3 separate regions of the Homo sapiens genome follow, and regions 2 and 3 are each linked to region 1. The links are contacts of gene promoters, found by promoter capture Hi-C in human tissues and cell types (Jung and others, 2019). All regions are on one chromosome and are shown on one strand. Each heading gives the region's core, a stretch centred on a gene start or on the middle of the fragment in contact. The rest is flanking DNA. Distances are from core to core; before and after follow the strand shown. Region 1 holds the start of PSMA1 (proteasome 20S subunit alpha 1). Region 2 overlaps COPB1 (coat protein complex I subunit beta 1). Region 3 overlaps COPB1 (coat protein complex I subunit beta 1).

What was found. The method cuts DNA at HindIII sites, captures the fragments that hold promoters and counts their contacts. A contact is called where the count stands out against the background at its distance.
Region 2: a fragment that was not itself captured here is called in contact with the fragment with the promoter of PSMA1 in region 1 in 2 of the 25 tissues and cell types used here (H1 embryonic stem cells and mesendoderm cells).
Region 3: a fragment that was not itself captured here is called in contact with the fragment with the promoter of PSMA1 in region 1 in 1 of the 25 tissues and cell types used here (H1 embryonic stem cells).

What each region holds. Positions count from the first base shown.
Region 1 is chr11:14,518,821-14,522,309 of GRCh38, reverse strand. PSMA1 (proteasome 20S subunit alpha 1) reads left to right here and starts at 1,924. Exons shown (of 10, transcript NM_002786.4): 1 at 1,924-2,013; 2 at 3,269-3,313. The coding sequence starts at 2,011. RefSeq lists enhancers at 1,793-1,982, 1,517-2,131. The HindIII fragment of the contact is 15,381 bases long and covers 1-3,489 here.
Region 2 is chr11:14,473,925-14,477,463 of GRCh38, reverse strand. It overlaps COPB1 (coat protein complex I subunit beta 1), which reads left to right. Exons shown (of 22, transcript NM_001144061.2): 12 at 449-545; 13 at 1,519-1,679; 14 at 2,849-2,969. Among named protein-coding and RNA genes, the nearest start is that of COPB1, 24 kb to the left of the region's middle. The HindIII fragment of the contact is 6,579 bases long and covers 1-3,539 here.
Region 3 is chr11:14,456,194-14,459,678 of GRCh38, reverse strand. COPB1 (coat protein complex I subunit beta 1) reads left to right here. Exons shown (of 22, transcript NM_001144061.2): 21 at 992-1,147; 22 at 1,796-2,167. The coding sequence ends at 1,855. Among named protein-coding and RNA genes, the nearest start is that of COPB1, 42 kb to the left of the region's middle. The HindIII fragment of the contact is 5,216 bases long and covers 1-3,485 here.

The sequences.
Region 1 (3,489 bases), core at 675-3,174:
ATACCAATAACTTGGAAACAATTGAATTGCACACTAATAATTAAGCAAATTATTATATTTCCATACAATAAAATACTATGCGACTATTGAAAATAATATAGACCATTACTTATGGACATATGATAGCTATAACTTTTTAAGTGTATTAATAAAAACAGTATCATCTTATTTTTAAAAATTGTATATTTATTACACATCTGTGTGAGGCATGTGACTAGAGAGATATATATGGAAAGAATTTTCAAAATGTTTATGTAGTATATGACAATTTTTAAATGAGCATTTATTTAATCAGTTAGCACTATTTATAAACACTTAATATGTGCTACGCATTGTGCTAGGTCCTGGAGAAACGAAAGAGAACAATCTATTAATTTAATCTGTTAATTTAGTCCACCAAATCAACAGTGTTTTTCAGAAATACGACAATAACCAGTGTTGATGAATTAGAGAAGGTAACCTCATATACTACTGTTGAGAGTATATGTTGGTAAAACATTTCTGGAGAACAATTTAGTACTTTGTTTTTTGTTTTTTTTTTTTTGAGATGGAGTCGCACTCTGTCGCCCAGGCTGGAGTGCAGTGGCACGATCTCAGCTCACTGCAACCTCCGCCTCCCGGGTTCAAGCGATTCTCCTGCCTCAGCCTCCTGAGGCACGCCACCACGCCCGGCTAATTTTTGTATTTTTAGTAGAGACGGGGTTTTACCATGTTGGCCAGGATGGTCCGATCTCCTGACCTCGTGATCCACCCGCCTCTGCCTTCCAAAGTGTTGGGATTACAAGCGTGAGCCACCGCGCCCGGCTTTTTTTTTTTTTGAAACAGAATCTCTATTGCCCAGGCGGGCTGGAGTGCAACGGCGCGACCATGGCTCACTGCAACCTCGATCTCCCTGGCTCAAGAGATCCTCCCACATCAGCTTCCCGAGTGGCTGGGACCACAGGCCCATGCCAACATGCCCAGCCTTTTTTTTTTATTATTCTTATTCTTATTCTTATTCTTATTATTATTGTAGCGACGAGGTCCCACTGTATTAAAATAATATAGTGATCTCAAACTCCTGGGTTCAAGCGATCCTCCGCCCTCGGCCTCCAATAGCGCTGGGATTACAGGCGTGAGCCACCACACCCAGTCTCTTTTTTACAAAGAATATAAATAGCCGGTGGATGTCAGACTATTTCGTTATGGAAAGATGCTCTCAAAAGACGAAATAGATAAATCGAAAGAAAGTGTCCATTTTTTCTCAGTGGCCTAATCTGTCAGGTACCATGCTTGGTTTTGGGGGCATAGAAAGACATTAGCGCCCTCATGGAGTTCAAAGTCTGGTGGAAGAAATCAATCATAATAACAATGAGGGGTTAACGACAACAGACCCTTGAAAGATAACATCTCCAGGGAATAAGGAAGAGCATTCCAAAGTATTTTGCCAAATGGCAAAAACCGCAGTTACTTTTGCACCAACCTTAATGCAAATAAAAGCATGTACACAAACAAGATACTCGAGGAAGAATACAGCTGACACACAGAAACGGATCGTTATCTTGTGGCTTTCCTGCAGCCTCGTTCCTTTCAGTCACATAACACCCCAAATCTGTGGACGGTTAATGAGAGCTAGTATCACCCAGAGTCACGGCTGTTGACTCGGACGACTTTAGATGCAGCCCGCCAGCGGGAGAAACTGGAGGGAATCCGCCATACACAGGAACCTAGAAGGGCTACGTGACAGGGGCTGCCCCGCAGCTCTCAGCCGCCGGCACTCCCAGCCAGGTTTTCCCGCCAGTCTCAGTTCCTAGATCTTCCGAGGCTCCGCCCGCCGCCGAGCGGTCGGAAAGTTTTAAGGAGGGGGAAGTGTTGCAAGCCTATCGATATCTCTGGAATAGACTGCGCTACCCTGCGCCGCCGCCGTCAAACTCCCGCAGACTTCTCTGTAGATCGCTGAGCGATACTTTCGGCAGCACCTCCTTGATTCTCAGTTTTGCTGGAGGCCGCAACCAGGCCCGCGCCGCCACCATGGTACGTTGAATCCCGATCTCTGGAAGGTTTAGGGCAGAGCTCTGGTGACTGGGGGATGACGAGCCACCTCTCCTGTCATCCTTAGCGTCGCCCGGTGCCACGAGGTATGAGAGCCTCGGCAGACGGCCGGGCTCCGGCAGTGATTCAGCATCTCCGGCCTGGCCGGGCTAGGGGTTATCGGTAGCCAGTGCGGCCTTTCCACCGCTTTCGCTTCCCGGGGAGCCTCCGACACTTCCTCCTCGGTCAGCTAGATGAGTTCGCCCCTCAGGTTCCTTCAGTGGAGTAGATTCTGAGCGGTCCAGAATAGCTCCTAGTGCTGTGTATGGGAGAGGAGAAGACAGAGACTTGACTTGGAGGCCTACCTGTACCACCAGTGCGGACTTGACCCCCAGGTTTGTGTTCCTGGACAGCGTCCGTTTTCCTGGTGGGTCCGTCTATTTATCTCTCGCCTAGACTTCGATTAGAAGAGGCCCTTTTCAATCATTTTGTCCAGTCACCTAGTTGCGGATGAGTAAGCCGAGGCTGAGAGGGGAAGTGATGGAATCAGGGTTACAATATAGGGTTCTGGGTTTCCAGTTCTGTCTGCCATTCTAGCACTCAATCTCACTCCCATGACTATTATTATAATAGTCGTAATAGCCGTAATGGTTCTATCGCTGCAGCTATTTGTGTCCACCTCTAACTTTGTGAGGACATTTTTGTTCATTCAATGTGAATATACAGACAGCACTTGTACAGGCATAACTACAGTGAACATTAAAAAATAAGTCATACATGTCCCTAATCATAAAAACAGAAAGGGACGTTTAGATAAAGAGCTGTGGGAGTATATGTTAGGGGGATTTGGGAAGAAAAGGAGAAGACTTCAAGAAATCGACATTTAAGCTACCTTAAAGAAAAGGAAGACTTTTAACCATTTATTAGGGCCCAATAAAAGGGAGCAGCATAAGCAAAAATAGGCAAGAAAGTTGATTGTGAACTTTAGTAATTGAGCCTAAAGGGGTTGATATGGAGGGTGTTAGAATAAGAGTTTGGAAAAATAGGACCCATTTAGATCTGCTTCTCCCTCTCCCACGAGTTTATGGTAAATGTAGAATTGGCTTACATCTGAGTACAGTAGTAATCTTCCAGTAAGACTGCATGAACAGAGTGCCTTAACATTGAATGGAAATACAAGCATATTTCTTAATGAATGTTAAGAGTTGGGATTTGAAATGTTCTTCTATTAACAGGTATTTTTTTCTTTTACTTTTAGTTTCGAAATCAGTATGACAATGATGTCACTGTTTGGAGCCCCCAGGTAAAATAATGTTTTTAAACCTTTTCTGTGAAGTGGCTTTTTGTGGCTGCAATATATTTAGAAACTTGTGAGAGCGTAGGCTTGGGGAAAATGGAATATAATTATTTTAGACGTTCTTGGAAGTTGCATTTATAATTAAAATAGGTTTCCTGATGGACCTAGAGGACATTATGTTA
Region 2 (3,539 bases), core at 239-2,738, 44 kb after region 1:
GGCCTCAGCCTCCGAATGTGCTAGGATTACAGGCGTGAGCCACCGTGCCTGGCCCTTGTTTTTTTTTTTTTTTTGAGACGGAGTCTCGCTCTGTCACCCAGCCTGGAGTGCAGTGGCGCGATCTTGGCTCACTGCAAGCTCCGCTTCCCGAGAATGGGTTCCCGCCATTCTCCTGCCTCAGCCTCCCGGGTAGCTGGGACTACAGGCGCCCGCCACCATGCCCGGCTAATTTTTTTGTATTTTTAGTAGAGACGTGATTTCACCATGTTAGCCAGGATGGTCTCGATCTCCTGACCTCGTGATCCGCCCGCCTCGGCCTCCCAAAGTGCTGGGATTACAGGCGTGAGTGCCTGGCCCTTGTTTTTATTTGAGCTTAAATTAACAAAGAAAGATCTCTGCTTCAAGATTTGTCTGCCAAGTTCATGTTTCAGATCTTGTATTGTGCTAGGATTTACCGAGGAGCATTATGGATCCTGGGAGAATACTGTAGTACCAAGGAAGACATTCAGAGTGTGATGACTGAGATCCGCAGGTCCCTTGGAGAGGTATGTTTTACTTTAGTAAATGTTAGTTTATATGGTAATTTTTCCTTTAGGAAAATCTGACTTTTTATAGTGATTTGCTTACATTATTTACACTTCTGAGTTAGATTTTGTTTGAACAAAATGTTCTGTGTTTATTAAAAAAAAAAAAAAAAAAAAGAAGCAGTAGCTTGTAAAATTCTGCTTTAGCCTGTATTCTGAAGGAAGAATGCCTTAGAGTAAGTCTGACTTCAGAATATTTATGCAGTAAAACTGACAGTATTCTTCATCCTAACAACCTTATGGTAGAATAGAAAGAACAGTGGACTAATTATCAGGAGACCTGACAATTAGTTCTAGTCATTGTTGTGTCGACAGTTAGCTGGAGGACCTTGAATATAAGTTCCTCAACCTAACTTGACATCAGTGTTTTTCACCTATAAAATAAATTAAAATAGGTAATGATTAAATACTCTTAGTGCTCTTATATTAGGTAATGGACTGGTATTGAGTAATAAATACATAATAGCCATTCAGTTAATTTAAAAGTTAGTTGATGAGGTTATTATGTACAAATAAGTCGGATTTATTTCATTTTAGAAGGATGAGTACTGTTTTGGTTAAAATTTCAAGGAAAGGAATGAAGAAGAGGAATACGACTTAATGACCATCTGCTTTGTGTTAGACACTGTCCAATGCATTTTTCTATTAGGTAAAATGTGTAGAAAGAATTAAGATTTCCACTTAGCAGATTAAGAAACTGAGGTCCAAAGTAGTAAGTGGCAGAGTGAGAATTCAAACCCTGGAATATCCATCTCTGAAGCCCCTATTCTACCTACTACATTATCCTGGGAAGGAAATAAATTGAAAGCAGAGTTCCCAGTTCCAAAAATCCCATTAGGGTAATGCCTTTTTTAGAGAAACAATCAAATATTTAAAGATAATTTTGCTTGCTGTTGATACTATTACTAAAATGATGTTTCCAATTGACTTTTAGATCCCAATTGTAGAGTCAGAAATAAAGAAAGAAGCTGGTGAATTAAAACCTGAAGAAGAAATAACTGTAGGGCCAGTTCAGAAATTGGTTACTGAAATGGGTACCTATGCAACTCAGAGTGCCCTTAGCAGTTCTAGACCCACCAAGAAAGAGGAAGACAGGTAATTTATGGCACATATACCCTGCCAGCTGTACTACTTTTATTATTACTCTTGTATGTAAGACAGTCAAATGATTTCTTTCCTCTTGCTTTTGCAACCAAAATGAAAATCTTTGCCATTTAAGGTACTTGAGAAGCGGAGGATGTTTAAGTTCTTCCCCCTAGGAATTGTATTGATGGTTTTAATTCTCTGTCCCTTCCAGTGTTTTTATGGAAATAACTGTTCTGTTTAAACTCAAATTATTTTTACTCAGAAAATGCTAAGTGGGGGTAACTGAAGATATTTGAGTTTTGTTGTTTATTAGCATCTGAAAACATTTTGAAGATTTTTCAATTTCTAAATGATGGAATAAAATTGTGCATTTTTCTATTAAGTAAATTTTAATGGTGAAGATGGTGAAATCTTTGCCTAAAATTTTACTGAATACCCACTAAGTGCTAGGCATTGTGCTAAGTAGTTTGTCTCATATAGTCTTGACAATAAGCCTTTGAGATAGAATATATTATCTCCATTTTATGGAAGAAGAATTTGAGGCTTACCCAGTAAATAAACAGGTAAGCTGGAATTCGGAGGTACTTCATTAGCTGCAATTACGTATGCCCCTAATTAAATATTGTATCTTTCCATATTCTGATGGCTTTTGTGTCATTCAAAGATAAGTTTTCTTTTTTTTTTTTTTTTTTTTTTTTTTGACACAGAGTCTTGCTCTGTCGGCCACGCTAGAGTGCAGTGGCGCGATCATGGCTCACTGCAACCTGTCTCCTGGGCTCAAGCAGTTCTCCTGCCTCAATCTCCTGAGTAGCTGGGATTACAGGTTTGTGCCACCATGCCCAGCTAATTTTTGTATTTTTAGTAGAGACGGGGTTTCACCATGTTGGCCAGGCTGTCCTCGAACTCCTGACCTCAGGTAATCCGCCCGCCTTGGCCTCCCAAAGTGCTGGGATTACAGGTGTGAGCCACTGCACCTGGCCAAAGATAAGTTTTAAAGTCATGTATTATTTTTCTTTTTCCTTCTTTCTTCTGGGAGCTAAGGAGTTAGTTAGCTAAGGTATCCTTATCACTGAAGGATGGTAATAAGAGTGTTTAATAGGCCTATATCATTCATTTATACAGAAGCTGCATGCTGCTTAGCAAGTTGGTGGGTTTGATTTTCCTTGGTTGCTTTGCAGACCTCCCTTGAGAGGATTCCTTCTGGATGGAGATTTCTTTGTTGCTGCCTCCCTTGCCACAACTCTGACCAAGATTGCATTGCGCTATGTAGCTTTGGTTCAGGAGAAGAAAAAGCAAAATGTAAGTTCATTTATTTTACATTTAACCAACAATTAAACATTGAGTGCCTACTATATGCATTGAACAGTGAGGGACTCAAAAATTAATGCTAAGTTTCTGTCATGAAAGAGTTTATGATTTAATAGCAGAAGTGGACACAGTAATATATTACTCTAAAATTGATAAAGTATCTTCCTCTTCTGTTTGGGCTTTAAAAAAATGAAAATTGACAAAGTAATACAATAACAATGTCATGTGATTATTCCAGTGGAAGAGAAAGGATTTATGAAGTCACCTCAGTTTGCTGGGATTAGTTCAGGACCAGTGAAGGAAATGTCCTTCTCTCCAGCATCTGCATCCATTCGGTCATTGTCTGTTTTATCCCAGAATGTCTCTTAAGTTATTCTCATCTGTAGTTCATGCCTGCTTTGTAGCTTCTGACCGTTCTAACCAAACACCCATTTACAATGGTATGCAGTTGGTCCTCCATATTCACAGCTTCTGCACCTGCAGATTCAACCAACTATGGATTGAAAATATCTTTTTTAAAAAATGATAAACAGTAAAAAATAATAGAAAGTTGAAAACAAT
Region 3 (3,485 bases), core at 543-3,042, 62 kb after region 1:
ACACCACTGCATTCCAGCGTGGGTGACAGAGTGAAACTCTGTCTCAAAAAGATAAATAAAATCGTTTATTTGTAATACTGGATTAGAAAATGTCCATGAGCTCTTCCGTGGGCTCTGATTGTTGGTTAAAATATATGTGCTCAAATACAGAATCGTTGTTATACTGTGACTTTTTGCTATGTTTGTGTATGTATGAAAAAAACGAGAGAGAAAGAAAAATGAAGCTGGAGCTCTAAGGAACTTTTTTCTTTATGTAAAATTTCTATAATGTTATAATATTCATTTTATAAATAAAATAATGTCTGCTACCAAACAAGTAGGTTTTAATTTATATATTAGTTTATTCAGCATATACTGAGTCCAACAAAAGTAGTCTCTTCCTTCATGGCGCTTAAGGTCTGATATGGGAGGCAGTCAAGCAAGTTAAGTAAACAGAATATATAAATACAAATCGGATTAAGAACTATTTATTTAACATCAGATTTATTGAGGTATAATACACAGTAAAATTCACACTTTTTACATGTATAGTTGAGTTTTGACAAACTCATAAGATTATGTAACCACCACCCTGTATGTAAGTACTGTTTTAAGTGATAAATAACCAATGGGGCTGGGCGTGGTGGCTCACACCTGCAGTCCCAGCATTTTGGGAGGCCGAGGCGGGTGGATCACTTGAGGTCAGGAGTTCAAGACCAGCCTGGCCAACATGGTGAAACCCTGTCTCTACTAAAATTACAAAAATTAGCCAGGTGTGGTGGCGAATGCCTGTAATCCCAGCTACTTGGGAGGCTGAGGCAGGAGAATCGCCTGAACCTGGGAGGAAGGTTGCAGTGAGCCGAGATCACGCCACTGCACTCCAGCTCCAAGCTGGACAACAGAGTGAGACTCTGTCTCAAAAAAAAAAAAAAAAAAGTCACCTATGCTGTTTGGTTTTTGCCTCTATGTAGGTATCTGGTAAAGTAATGAATTTATCACAAATTTTTTCCAGGCCCTTTCTGGTTACTGTGGCTTTATGGCAGCCAACCTTTATGCTCGTTCCATATTTGGTGAAGATGCACTTGCAAATGTCAGCATTGAGAAGCCAATTCACCAGGGACCAGATGCTGCTGTTACCGGCCATATAAGAATTCGTGCAAAGAGCCAGGTAACAGTTCCTTTTTTTTTGAGAGTATCTCTGGACTGACAAAGGGGGGAGGAATTTATGACTTTATTATTTCTATATGTAGTATCTTTTTAGCATTAGATGCATATACACATACAATAATAATATACTCTGAATAGAAGTATAACTTTTCTCATTAAAATTTCTCACCTTTTGGGCCCCTCATTCTGGGATATTTGCCTAAAACCAGATTGATTCCTATGGGGTGTTTGTGAAATGGGTTCTCTAGAATTTTTTGAAAGCCAAGGTGTAAATCTAGTGACTAATTAGCTGGGTGTTGTAGCGCACACCCGGTAATCCCAGCTACTCGGGAGGCTGAGGCAGGAGAATTGCTTGAACCCGGGAGGTGGAGGTTGCAGTGAGCTGAGATTGTGCCATTTCACTCCAACCTGGGTGACAGAATGAGACTTCGTCTCAAAAAAAAAAAAAAAAAAAAAAATCTGGTGACGGCTTGAAAAATCTAGCACTGAAAGGTAATTACCAGTAAAGTTTGGTAAGTCTGTTTGGTATGTCCTTGATTTTATTGTTGATAATGGTGTCATTGAATTGAATTGGGGCTTAATAATATGGAATAACCTACTGATTGTACATAGTTTAAATAATTATAAATATCTTAATTTTTCTTTACAGGGAATGGCCTTAAGTCTTGGAGATAAAATCAACTTGTCACAGAAGAAAACTAGTATATAAAAATAAACAAAAAGTCCTTGAAGCTTTACAGTTAATTTAGGTATGGGCTTACTGGACTCCAACATCTTTTGTACTCTTTCATGCTTATATAGAATCTGAGTTCATGCTGAATACTTTTCAGCCAATAATTTATAGCCTTTCCCTTAAATCAAGATTGAGTTTAAAATTATAGTTTGTCTTTTGTCTTAACAGTTCTGAATGCTGTCCTCAAAGTATATAATGTTTCATGTACCAAGACCCTTTTCACAGTACAATAAACAGATCTATTCATAAATTTTTGTTATTTTATAAATAAATGATTACATAATTTTAGTTATATGGCAATGGATTTCTTTTAGTTGGGTTATAAATTTCTATTATAAATTTAAATTACTGAGTTGTGAATATATGCAGCTTTATTAAGAGAATTTACAAATTCAATGATATAAAATAAGGTAGGCCTTGATTCACTTGGTTGTTTTTTACTTATTTAATATTCCAACATTGCTATCTCTAAAAATGCATTATCATGTTTTGAAGGGATTTGCTCTTGAATTTAGCTCCAGGGAGAAAGTATCAAAATAACTTTTTTTTTTTTTTTTGAGATGGAGTCTGGCTCTGTCACCCAGGCTGGAGTGCAGTGGCGTGATCTTGGCTCACTGCAAGCTCCACCTCCCGGGTTTACACCATTCTCCTGCCTCAGCCTCCCAAGTAGCTGGGACTACAGGTGCCCGCCACCACGCCTGGCTAATTTTTTGTATTTTTAGTAGAGACGGGCTTTCACCATGTTGGCCAGGATGGTCTCGATCTCCTGACCTCGTGATCCGCCCGCCTCAGCCTCCCGGAGTGTTGGGATTACAGGCGTGAGCCACCGCACCCGGCCCAAAATAACTTGAGAAAACAGATCGCTCTGCAGTTTAAAGAAGTATTATGTACCCGAACTGAAATAGATATACTGTTCTTAATTATCCTGAATCATAATGAAGAGTAGATAATCCAAAATAGATTTTTTAATCATTCACATTTAGTTTGGGGTGTTCTATGTTTGTTAGGAATAAAACTGGTTCTAACCAATTACTGAAGCTGGTACTGGGAGGATTCAACTAGAGAGGATTCAAAAAGCTGCCTTTTTCTCTGTTGCCTCCGTGCCTTACTCACATTTAGTTTAGGGTGTTCTATGTTTGTTAGGAATAAAACTGGTTCTAACCAATTACTGAAGCTGGTACTGGGAGGATTCAACTAGAGAGGATTCAAAAAGCTGCCTTTTTCTCTGTTGCCTCTGTGCCTTACTCACTCGTCTCCTTTTCCTCACTTCACACTAGGACTGGGTACCATCACACTGCAGTATAATTCCAAATGCATTTCCAAGCTAAGTTTCCCAGCGTCTGATTGTGCTTTCCTTTTGGCCTTTACTTTCATTGGGGGTGATTGAGGTAGTCTGATTTTTTAGCTAAGTCTAAACTTAAGGCTATTATTTGTCTACCAGCTAGGGTTCAGGCTGCATTCCCTGTGAGTCCTTAGATAAGGTCTGTGAAAGACTGAAAGCATCTCCTATTTCATTAAGAATGAAATGATTTGTTTGGAGTATAAGGAGATTGATACCTTGTATGATGTCATAAACTGTGAAGCCACTTGCTTTTAAAAAAAAAAA